Regions from separate parts of the Homo sapiens genome. Here regions 1 and 3 are each linked to region 2. The links are contacts of gene promoters, found by promoter capture Hi-C in blood cells and fetal thymus (Javierre and others, 2016). All regions are on one chromosome and are shown on one strand. The core of a region is centred on a gene start or on the middle of the fragment in contact, and the rest is flanking DNA. Distances in the headings are between cores, read along the strand shown.

What was found. The method cuts DNA at HindIII sites, captures the fragments that hold promoters and counts their contacts. A CHiCAGO score of 5 or more calls a contact.
Region 1: a fragment that was not itself captured here is called in contact with the fragment with the promoter of FRMD5 in region 2 in 3 of 17 cell types (endothelial precursors, megakaryocytes and erythroblasts); the score reaches 6.8 in endothelial precursors.
Region 3: a fragment that was not itself captured here is called in contact with the fragment with the promoter of FRMD5 in region 2 in 1 of 17 cell types (M1 macrophages); the score reaches 5.6 in M1 macrophages.

What each region holds. Positions count from the first base shown.
Region 1 is chr15:43,886,048-43,890,000 of GRCh38, forward strand. FRMD5 (FERM domain containing 5) reads right to left here. Exons shown (of 14, transcript NM_032892.5): 9 at 2,762-2,825; 10 at 2,128-2,219. Among named protein-coding and RNA genes, the nearest start is that of WDR76, 61 kb to the left of the region's middle. The HindIII fragment of the contact is 1,578 bases long and covers 1,112-2,689 here.
Region 2 is chr15:44,193,511-44,197,300 of GRCh38, forward strand. FRMD5 (FERM domain containing 5) reads right to left here and starts at 1,761. Exons shown (of 14, transcript NM_032892.5): 1 at 1,443-1,761. The coding sequence starts at 1,544. RefSeq lists silencers at 1,092-1,151, 1,262-1,311, 3,546-3,781 and enhancers at 1,645-2,146, 2,147-2,646, 2,162-2,261. The HindIII fragment of the contact is 9,344 bases long and covers 1-3,790 here.
Region 3 is chr15:43,868,179-43,872,128 of GRCh38, forward strand. FRMD5 (FERM domain containing 5) reads right to left here. Exons shown (of 14, transcript NM_032892.5): 14 at 2,586-3,950. It overlaps WDR76 (WD repeat domain 76), which reads left to right. Exons shown (of 13, transcript NM_024908.4): 13 at 1-234. Among named protein-coding and RNA genes, the nearest start is that of WDR76, 43 kb to the left of the region's middle. The HindIII fragment of the contact is 4,197 bases long and covers 385-3,950 here.

The DNA.
Region 1 (3,953 bases), core at 651-3,150, 310 kb before region 2:
GCTCGGGTGGATGGTCTTGGGGAATAATAGAATGCCCATCTAATCTCAGCCACGTCACTTATTAGCAGTGTGACCTCGGGCAAATTTCCTTCTCTCTTAGCCTCACCCTTTTTATAAAATGATAGAGCTGGGACTACTGGACCTTAGGGGTCTCCTTTCCAGTCCCAGTATTTGATTTTGTGTCTATGTCTGGGTAATTGTGGGTGGAGAAGAGGGTGGGGGCTGTCTTTCCTGTTCCATCTCCCTTTTGGAGGGTCCTAAAATACATGACCACAGTAAAGACAGAAATCCTGCGATGAAGAAACTAGCTTAACTTTAATAAAAGTCCGTCATGTATTTGAATTTGGAGCCTTTCTCCCTCCCCCAGGATATCTATTTTATATCTCGTTTGAAGCTGCAGACAGCCGATGTGGAGCTCTGTAATACTTTCTCCTGGGTGACTTCACTGAGCCCATTAGCTCTCTCAGCTTGGGCACAGCAGCTCAGAGAGAAGCCTCCTAAGATGGGATCCACCTGTAACATGCCCAGGTGCCTATGGTACTGATCCAACCAGTAACCTATGTGAGTCTGAAACCTGTGCTATGAGCAGTGAGTAGGAGCTGTTTCCACAATCCATGAACAGTTCTTGGGAGACACCATCCCTGCCCGTCTCAGGGCTCCAGGACATCCGAGCTGCTTACTGGAGCCTGGGCATGTTCTTGCATCTGACTGGGCTCCTGCCATGGCACTAGGCCAAAGGCAGGACTAGGGATCTGTATGTGAGAGACACTGAGGGCAAGGCCAAAGCGCTGCTGCCAGAGACTTGACATACCTGGGGATCTCACCCAGGCTTTTACCGTTTGATGAGAACATTAAGGAGGCAATGGAAAACTGAAAAATGACCTCCATTTCCAGTGTGGGTGCAGGCAGGGCTGGGTGGGTAGGGAGATCTACTCGTGGGAAGACTCAGAAACTGAGTGAGGTCACAGGTTCAGAAGCAACACTTCTGTTTCCGTGACACAGATGGGAAAACCAAGCCCTTAAGAAATGCTGCTGAAGGCATGAAAAGACAAGAGGCAAGGAGATTGCTTCTGTTTGCTTCTTCTCTACCCTTTGGTAGAGAGAAAGGGAAAGCTTCCACATATGCCATTCCCAGGGCAGGGATAGTTCAGTGTGGAGCAGGCCCCTGTCGGCTAGTGCCTTCCTCTCTCTGCTGCGGAGACCCGTGGGACCCCAGTTCTTGGGCTGCTCCTCAGTCCCACAGGCAGGAGCTTGCATCTCAAGTTGCTTCTCTCTAGGTTCAGGTAACTGGCCAAACCTGGATTACATCCTCACAGGCAAAGGGAGGGTGGTAGCAAAAGAAAATAAATGTTTTCTTGACTTTCTATGGACAGTAGGGACTGAACAGGAGGGAAGTGTGACCATGCCAAAGTCTCCCGAGTATATTCAGGAGAAGAAAGGCTGCCGATTCAGTGAATCCTTGGTTCTGGTATAAACACATAATGGGAATTAAGTAATTCAGAATGCCTGTCTAAGAAACAGCTTCTGGGGCTGTGGCCCTGGCAACTGGGAGGACCCAGTTCTGCCAGCCAGCATCCCATAGCAGCCAGCAGGCAGCAGAATCTTCCCTGGAGAGAAGTATGGTGCCACTCATCCCAGAGCAGTTCTCATCTCTCCAGGATCCTTCAGGTTACTGGAACTGGGACCTGGCCAATCAGGGGCATTTGGTGAGAGCAGGGCTCACCCCAGGTAGAATATACCACACTCTGTCTTGCCTTGACCTCATTCAGATACATCTTAGTAAAGCATAAATCATTACGGTATATTTTTAAAACAAGACCAAAGGGCTTAGTGAGACATATTTTACCTGGCATCATGCCCTCAGTGGGCCATTTCTTCACTACCTAATGCTTTTATAACCACTTTCTTAACCGAAGAAAACAACACAAAAGCCCCACATTCTTTACAAAATCCCTTTGGTAGGCAAAGCTCTTGCCTTTGGCCTCAACCTGGCTTCTCAGTAACTGTCAAGCTCTTGCCCACTTCCAGCTACCCCGCCCCAAGTTCCTGGGCACTTGGCCTCCTGTCACCGACTCTCTCTGACTCTGGCTCTAAGAAAGACAGTCCCCATCACATGTATCCACTCACTTGTAGAAGGCTTGGTTCTCGATTCCACATTTCCAGAGGTGCTTACACGCTTCAGGAGTTGGAGCAAAATATGTAAGAATAATTTTCTTTTCCTGCAAAAAATTCCACATTGATATGGCTGAGTGTGGATGGAGAAGCAAAGGGTGAAGTAGGCGAGGACCCTGACCCCAGAGCTGTTAGAGGCCCTGGCAGCTGGCTAGTTAGAGGGGAGGGCCTGTGGGACCCACTGAGGCAGAGCTCAGTTAAGTGCATCACATCATACTTGGCAAGTCCAATCAGGGTAAGTCTCAGCTGGCACAAAAGTGGCACAAATTGAACCAGGAGAGCTCTTGGTGAGAAAGTTGCCCTTGCCTCTGGAATTCCCATATACACGAAAGAAAAAGAGCCTTCCTTTGCATTTCCTGGAGGTAAAGATCTCTTGAGTGGAAGCTCTGGGTGTCAATAGCATCCCTGAGGAAGTCCTGTGCTCCAGGGCCTTCCCGCTCCTTCATATTGTACCTCCAGGTCCTGACCTTGGTCTTGGCTTAGTATGTGGGTAGCTTGGCTCTACTGGGGTCCCTCAAGCTTGGCTCTGGCCACCAGGAAGCATCCCATCACCCCAGCCCTCCTTGAAGAGAAGGAAGCCAGCACTCACCTCTTTCTGACTTACGTATAAATAGAAAGTCTTTCCTTCAAATTTCAGCTTGGTCACCTCATTCCTAGAAGCACAAAGATAGTGCCTGTCACCTCATTGTGGGCTGCTTGTTCACAGCTAAATCTTGTAGATGCACAGCCCACCCCAACTGGAAGGGGCTCCAGGCACAGACACAATTTTAGCCAAAATCAGAACTGAAACAAGACAGCAGCGCAGTGGCCTTAGAGAATGTTGTTGAAACAGTTCAATCCACAGTTTTCTGGTCAATCACACTATAGTAATAGGGTGACAGGAGGATTTCGGGCTTATCAACAGTGGCTGTAAAAGGGAAACATTTGCATGGAAAGTGAGTCTAGGTAGAGTATCTGGGGTCATTTCAGGATTGGGTTCATAACACAGGTGCATTATCTGGATGGGACTGTCAAACGTAAGATGCCACAGGTAGCTGATGAGGCCAAAGTTCAAGATACAGCAAATAATGAGAAACAATGCAACCAGGTTCTGAGGGAGTTGAGTCTTTCAGGTGACTGTGCCACTGGATGGAAAATGCAGTTTAATGCAGACAAATATCAAACAATCTCAGGGAGCGGGGCAGGGCAACATACCAAAGAGAGAGAACAGATTACATGGAACAGTCATGCAGCGTACTGACCAGGAAAGGGGCTTAGGGGTTATTGTAGAAAAATCCTTGAAGCCACCAGCCCAGTGAATGGCTGCAGTAAAAGAGGCAAACAGGATACTGGGGTACATCACCCGTGGGACAGACACAAATCAGAAGAAGTGACATGGTTACTGTACATGGCACGGCCTAGACCTCACCTCCACATCCACCTCCTGCTCTCAGCCTTGGTTACATTTGCAAAACGGAAAAACTACTGGGTCTTAGGTGAATGTCCCTGAGAGCCATGGAACTAGGCCTCAGCACTGGTTGCTCCTCACTTCCCTTCTATCTGCCCAACATAGCTGCCCTCTGGAGTCTCTCAGCCCTCTCCATGTCACTGGAGGCCCCATTTTTCAACCCAACTGGGACCCCCAAGGCGGTCTTGTCATGCACATTCACCTCCACTTGGCTGCTGCTTTTTTTTGTAATTTCTAAGGAGATTTCCTTCATCTCCTAGGAAATAGTAGAAAGGTAGCGAGAATCATGTACCCAACTTACTGCTGGAAAAAGTTCAGGGGACAGAGGAAAATC
Region 2 (3,790 bases), core at 511-3,010:
ATAATACAGAGCATCTCTCTATCATATTCAACTACAAAAATCCTTTCACTTGATGGCTAGCATCTTTATGACTGCTTAGTCTGTATTTAAGTAGCCTTAAAAAGAGATTTTGTGCTCTTTCTCTACCCTCATGGATCTTTGGCAGCAGTCAGCACTTATGCCCAGAGCTGGTTTCGAGGGGAGGGAGAAAAGGGAAAGTGAGGAGAAGGCTGAACTGAGCACGGAGTCAGCAGAGACCAGCTGCTCTCATACACTACCCAGTGTCTTTCTCACACACCGCTATTTTCCGCGATTGAGCACTGTCAGCAAAAATAAATAAATAAGGAGGCGGGGGGCAAGAAGACACTGAGGGTAGGACCCAGGCCGACAGTTTTTGTCTGTCACATCTGAGCCAGAAGCCTCCTCCTGTTTTCCTGCTGCAAAGGCAAAGGATCAGGTGAGACCCCTCTGGGTCCAGCTCAATTAGCTTCTCCACAAAGAGCAGCTTCCGGCGATGAGCGCAGGATCCTCCTGGCTGATGAACTAAACACGGGAGCATTGTCAATGTTTTCAATCTCTGACTTTTTCATAAGGGAGGAGAGAGGGCTGTGACTGCATTCCCGGGAAAGACTACTACTCCTGACGTGCACACAGCAGTAGCGAAGGAACATGAGCAAGAGGTTGTAAAAATCCCTTCAAAAATACCAGGTTCTGAAAGAAATGCTGTTGAGCATTACCGTATTGTTGGCGTTTTTCCTAAGTCGCCGATTCTTCCTGGCCACTTCCAAGCCCCAAATCGCTGGGACTTGTTGCTAAATCTTTACCTCACGTCCCCTAGAACCGCCCAACACAATAAAATTTGGGGATCAAAAGGCGGGAGGGGGCCTAAATCTCTAAAACCCAGAGGACTGGGCTTCCTTCAATAGGCCACTCCGCATGGGCTGCGCGTTCAGTTCTACCTTCTGAAAGCTCTGACTCACAAATGGTGGGGGGAGGAATTATGACATAAACCATTATCCTTCCAACCCAAGAAAGATAAGAAAAGCCAGCCATACGTCCTTGCCCGGGCAGAGAGCCAAAGCCTGCGCCCCCGACGGGGCGGCCGGGCTAGGAGCCTACCGCCCTACCCGCCTCCCTCCGGGCGCCCCGGAAAGGTGCACCTTACTCGGGCGGGCTCGAGGAACCAGGACGGGGCGCCCTCACCCAGGGAGAGCAGGGTAGGACTTAGGGGTGTGGGACGCGGAGACTCGCCCCGCGGCGGCGGTGACACACCGGGTGCCAGGGCTCCGGCAGGGGCTCCGGTGAAGACGCCCTGCACTAGGGCGGTCCGCCGCAACCAGGAACGGACAAAGCACGGCGCTGGGGCTGGGGCGACCCCTGGGCGGCGGCCGCCGCCGGCCAAGTTGACCAGACTTGGGGGACAAGGGGGTCCCGCGGGCGGGGCGGGGCGGCGCGGCGCTGACCTGGATGGTGCAGGTGTACTCGCTGTCGTCCAGCAGCCGCACGGTGCAGCTGTACTCGCGCTCCAGGCTCCTGCTGCTGCCGCTCATCAACCTGCTCAGCATCTTCCCGCCCGCCCGCCCGGGAGCGACGCGGCGGCGCTGCGGACCCTGGACCAGGCGTCCCTCAGCCCGGCAGCTCCGCACCGACCCCAGGCACCTGCACCATCACCCCGGCCCCGTCGCTGCCGTTGCCTCCTGCTGGCCTCGTTCCTCCTCCTTATCCTCCTCCTTCCCTCAGCCGCCACCGCCTCCCCCCAGCCCAGATCAAGCGCCGGGCTCTGTCTCCTCGGCGCCCCAGTGCCCGTGCCCAGCTCGCGGGGCGGGGCCTCAACTGGAGGGGGCCAATGGGGGTCAGCGCGGCGGAACCGAGTGGCAGACCGAAAAGCCAATCGAGATAGAGTACTGGGATGATGGGCGGGATAAAGAAGCAATCACAGAAAAGCAGTCGGACCTAGTCAAGCCGGAGCAGCCCTCTAGCGTCCCAAACGAGGGGTTCCTCTCCGCCCCGTGGTTCCTATGGATGCTGTTTCCCCTCCCCCGGGCCAGGTGTGAGCACCCAACTGGATTGATGTCTGCCGCCTGAAATACACTTGATCTGCGTTTCCGAAGCCAAGCCTCGCACCCTGCAACACCGCGGTTCCCGCCCTCTTGGGAGCCGGAGCGAGGAGGCGGCAGGGTGCTGGATCACAGTCCCTGCACCTGCAGAATGCGGATACCTCTCGCTCCAGATAGGGCGACTGCCCCCGACCTGTGCTGTACCCTAAGTTGGCCCGTCTGGCCTCTGTGCTCCAGCCCTCTTATTTTGGGAAACAGGAGCTACTTAAATAAAAGCTAAAGGGACCTCAGAGGTTCTGAAGTACCCAGGTTTAATCCCCTAAAAAACCCTCCACTCTAACACCCTTTGCCTCCTTTTTATTTCAGAAGACAAAAGGAGACTGCTCCTTCAGCTGGTAGGGAGCAGAGGAAGCAATGAATCTTCTCCTTGCACTTTTAGAACTGGAAATTATGTCTTCAGACTTTCTCAATAGAACAACATAGTATGTCAGGAGGTATACATCACAAAGAATTGTCTCCTTCTCTTTGTCACCCCAAATTTACAGACTTCAAGGTTTTTTACCAGAACTTCAATAAGAGATATTCTCCCTCAAAGATTTTTGATGTGAGGAAATGTTATAAAATAATTATGTCGGCCGGGCGCAGTGGCTCAAGCCTGTAATCCCAGCACTTTGGGAGGCCGAGGCGGGCGGATCACCTGATGTCAGGAGTTCGAAACCAGCCTGACCAACATGGTGAATCCCCGTCTCTACTAAAAATACAAAAAAATTAGCCGTGCATGGTAGCACGCACCTGTAATCCCAGCTACTCGGGAGGCTGAGGCAGGAGAATCGCTTGAACCCAGGAGGCAGAGGTTGCAGTGAACCAAGATCACGGCCATTGCACTCCAGCCTGGGGGACAAGAGCAAGCCACCGTCTCAAAAAAAAAAAATAATCGTGTCAACATAGAACATTAATGCTGTAATAAATATATTAATTTAAAATAATGAAATAGGCATAATTTCCTATTACTTTCATTTGCACTGTTCTTGTTTATAGGTATAATGTGTAACAAAAATGAAACTCTACATTAGCCTAGAAAACTATCCCGCCTTTAAAGTATGCTTCTTCCCTAGTGTCTTTGGATTCCAATATTTTCCCCAATTTTTTTTTTTTTTTTTGCATGGGGAGATTCATTCTCTTTCATTCTCTCTCTCTCTCTCTCTTTCTCTCTCTCTCTCTCTCTCTCTTCCTCCCCCTCTCCCTCCCCCTTTTTCTTTCTATCACCTTAGTAACCTGGACTGCTCTTAATTGGTTGCATTCTCCTTTGTGGCATTTAATAGCCATAGGAGCAGGATTCTCTTTTCAATGCAATTTGGATGGAGTTAGTTATGAGTCTAGAACTAGTAAGTCAAGTGTTCCAGGCATAAAACCAGGCATGCGCTCCACTACTTTGTAGCTTCAGCAGGTAGTCTGATGCCTGAAACATAATAGGTATTCAATAAGTGTTGAACTGAATACAAAAATTAGCCGGGTGTGGTGGCATGCGCCCGTGGTCCCAGCTACTGGGGAGGCTGAGGCAGGAGAATCGCTGGAACCCGGGAGGTAGAGATTGCAGTGAGCTGAGATTGTGCCACTGCACTCCAGCCTGGGCAACAGAGCAAGACTCGGTCTAAAAAAAAAAAAATTGATGAACTGAAGTAAATGGAATTGACAGGTGTTCTACAGCACTTAAATCCCAGAGGAAGAAGACCTGTGAAGAAACTCAAAATTTC
Region 3 (3,950 bases), core at 1,233-3,732, 320 kb before region 2:
GGTTGAGTTATAATTAAACTGTTCAGGAAACATCGTAAAGGCTTTAGGCTCCCTTTTTCATTTCTATACCAATTAATCTCATGGGTTCTAGAGTGGTTAGTTCTACGGGAATTGTTTTTGTTTTTGTTTTTAAAGATGCTGAAAACTACTCTCAATCAAATTAGTACCATCATTTAAGCTTTGAATACTTGGCAGTAATTGCCTGGGCTCGTCAATAAATGTTAGCAAATTCTTGATGTTCCTCACTTTTGTGGTTTCTTTTGCCATTGTGGCTTCATAAACAGTGCTATTTATATTCAGTTATACTTTATAGAGTTATATCTTCAGGCAGTGCAGGAAGGAAGGAGAATGAGTAGGGACTTTTTTTTTTTTTTATTGGTGATAAGCTTTCTAATGGAGTAATTGTTTAAATCTAGACAGCACATAAAAGAAAATTGTCTCCCTTGGGACATTCTTACACTGTAATCTGTAGTGAAAGGTACTTCTCCCACAGACTTGCCTACAGCTGTGTGGCTTCTGTAATTATGTGTGTATTATGATTGCCTCCTTCGGGATAAGCCTTTTCTGTAAGTTTGGCCTTTATGATATCTCTTAAGCTCTGAATTCCGCTTGAGTTTTTTTTTTTTTTTTTTTTTAAGATACCCAGGCTTTTGTTATGTAACTTTTAAGGAAGGAGCAGACAATTCTCATTTTTGGTTGTCAGAGACTTTGTCAGACTAGGAGAGACCACAAATGATTAGGAATTAATAGAATCTGAGTTGCTTAAGTCCTATTTTAGTATTCTGGTCTTTGAGCTTCCTTTCCACCAAGAAGATTTTGCAAGGGGAGTTCTCCAGGAAAACAGGGAGCCTTAGGGCTATGGATACAAGGATTTAAATCCTTTCAGCTAATGTACAGTACATGGGGTAGGGTGGGGGAGAAGACACACATGCCTTCTGAATCAATCTGAGAAGAGGAAATATATGCCCTCTAACTTCAGATTCCAAAAACTTCAATGTCCTATTGGGCGGTCCTTTCTGACTTAGTACATTTCCCCCTGCTTTTTAGTAGGGTGTTGATGGCTAGAAATAACAAGACAGCAGATTGTATTTTGACTTATTTGGCTGTAAATACTTGGATTTTCAAATGAAAAGGTAGAATTTATGAGGAAGATAACATTTAGTACACTTACACGGAGCTGAAGAACAAAACATTTTATGATACATTTTCCCCAAAATGGAAACTGGGCAAGAGGAAATTTATTAAAAGGGTGCTTTGCTTGTTTTACTCCATTCCATCAGCAGGTCGTAGGGGTCTGAAGAGGAAGCCTGTTCATGAGCTAAAACCAAAAGTGTGTTCAGGTGCAGAGGAGCTAGATTGTGCTAGAGGAACCCAAAGCAGAGGGAGTAGGGACTAGAGTCCTACAGGGGTGTGTGCACAGGTAGTTCTTGATAAGCTGTCAGCAGAAGGGAGGCTGCTGTGAATCGGCAGGGCCACGGGAAGCCACCCAGGTCCAGTGTTTCTTGTGCTTTTTACTCTTTGGATCACTTCAAGCAAAATCTTATGTCATAAAAACAAAAAATTCCGCTGGGGATAGGGTGCTAGATAGCATTTTTTAGGTAGTGGGTACCTCTGAAATTTGGAGGTAACATAGCCTGATTGGTGTTTAGGAGGATGATCTGGCAACAGAAATGGGAGAGTGGAGGGCAGGCAGAATTGAAAAGACAAAGATTAGGTAAGAAGCTAGCACAGTGGACCAAGCCCCCATTATCACCTCTTATCCTCATGGAATTTAGAAGACCATTTCCAATTCCGTAGCCACAGAGTGATGGTTACATAATCAGATGAGATAATGCTATAGGGATATATTTTGTAAATATGTGGTGGTGGTATCATTGTAGTTCCTTCTTAGAAAGTATTTTCTGTGCTCCCACTTACTCCAGGCTTGAGTAAGAACAGCAGACCAGAAGGTGGACAATCTGGGTTCTAGTTTGGACTCTACCACTATGTAATCTTGGGAAAATCACTTAGTCTTCTTGGTTTTCCTCATCAGAAAAATACCCAATTCACTTTAAAATTATTACATATATAGCTTCTCAGTTTTTTTTTTTTTTTTTTTTTTTGATGTGGAGTCTTGCTCTGTCACCCAGGCTGGAGTGTAGTGGTGTGATCTCAGCTCACTGCAACCTCCGCCTCCCAGGTTCAAGCGATTCTCCTACCTTAGCCTCCTGAGTAGCTGGAATTATAGGCGCCCGCCACCACACCTGGCTAATTTTTGTATTTTTAGTAGAGACGGGGGTTTCACCACGTTGGTCGGGCTGGTCTTGAACTCCTGACCTCGTGATCCTCCCGACTTGGCCTCCCAAAGGGCTGGGATTACAGGCGTGAGCCACTGTGCCTGGCCGCTTCTCAGTTTCTAACAGTATTTATCTGGGGGTAAGGACAAGGATAATAGGTGGATACAAGCAAAATAATTATGTTATATGATCCAAGTGAATAGTAGTCAGCTGTGTAAATCCCACCAGTATCCTTTTATCTATGTGTTAGTAACTTTAAGGGAGGAAAAGTAAGACAGGCTATTATTAAAGAAAGAGCCCACTCTTCCATGATATTTAAATATTTATTTAAGTTTAAAAATAATCTTCATGGCACCAATGATTTTATGCTAACTACATACTGCATATGTAGAAAAAAGTACATTGCTTTGAAGGAAAATGTAACTTAAGAGTTTTTGGCACACAGAAGGTTAACAACTATATATTTTTAAATGTATCTAAGAAATTCACATTTGCAGGTAGTTTACCCTCTACTGCTTAAAGATGCAGTATGCTATTCTTTAGTAAGAGTTTTATTTCCTGATAGATGAAGCTATGAAAACCATTGCTTTTTCTACAATGAGATAAACTAATTTTGAGAGAAAATGAGAGACATGTTAGAACACAGTATAACCAGGTTAAAAACTTGAACAATTTTTAAAGGTGGAGATATACCAAAAAAGACTAGTCACCAATCAAAGGAGGTTTATTATTCAAGCACTATTTGAAAAGCAAACTGAAGGAAACTTTTCTATCCATATTTTCTGGGATGAGCCCTGGAAAAAAACAACCCTAAAGTTTCTGTTTACAGAGCAAAATTTAGCTGTTAGAAATGGCATAGACTACTGTACTGTTAGAACTCTAGACACAAGGAACATACTAGGATATGGAATACTGCATCTGTCTCTAATGTGAATATGAAAGGTCAGAGTTGAGGCTATCACTCACTGCATAGAAACACCAGATTCTACAAACTGAGGTAGGAGCACTACACTAAAAGGTAATCTTCTATGTTGCATAAGACAGTAGATACCAGGTGGACACCAGCCCCCTGTCTCCTGACAGCCTTTTCATCTCTGGGTCTACTTTTCACGTTAGTCCTGTGCTAAATAAAGCCTTTGCTATGTAGATGACAAGTGGCAGTGGCTAGTTGATTTTAACTGACCCCTAATCTCTACTAGGATCTCCTTCGGTTTGTATTGTCACTCGATAAATAGATGTTTATAATTCTGCCTAAATTGTTGCTGGTATGAAAATGGTCAGAGAAGCCCTCTTCCCTTCTTAGATTCCAGCTGTGTTTTAGCATTCCAGTATTTGATCTTGCCCATTTGGCATCAGACATCTCTTTGCTGGTTAGTTGTTCAAGCACCCTTTAAACAAGCAACCCTAGTGCCTCCACTGGGAAGAGGTCCCAGATCTTTGATACATGTCAGGCATGGAAACAGAGCTGACTGACCCTCTTCTGCTAACATACTGGTAAGGATCAGTTTTATTGTCTAGAGCAGGATTGGCGTATTATGGCCTGTAGGCTAAATTCAGCTCACTGTTTTCATAAAGTTTTATTGGAACACAGCCATGTTCCTTCATTTACAAATTATCTGTGGCTGTTTTTGTGCTGTGATGGCAGAATTGAGCAGTTGTGACACAGTATGGCGT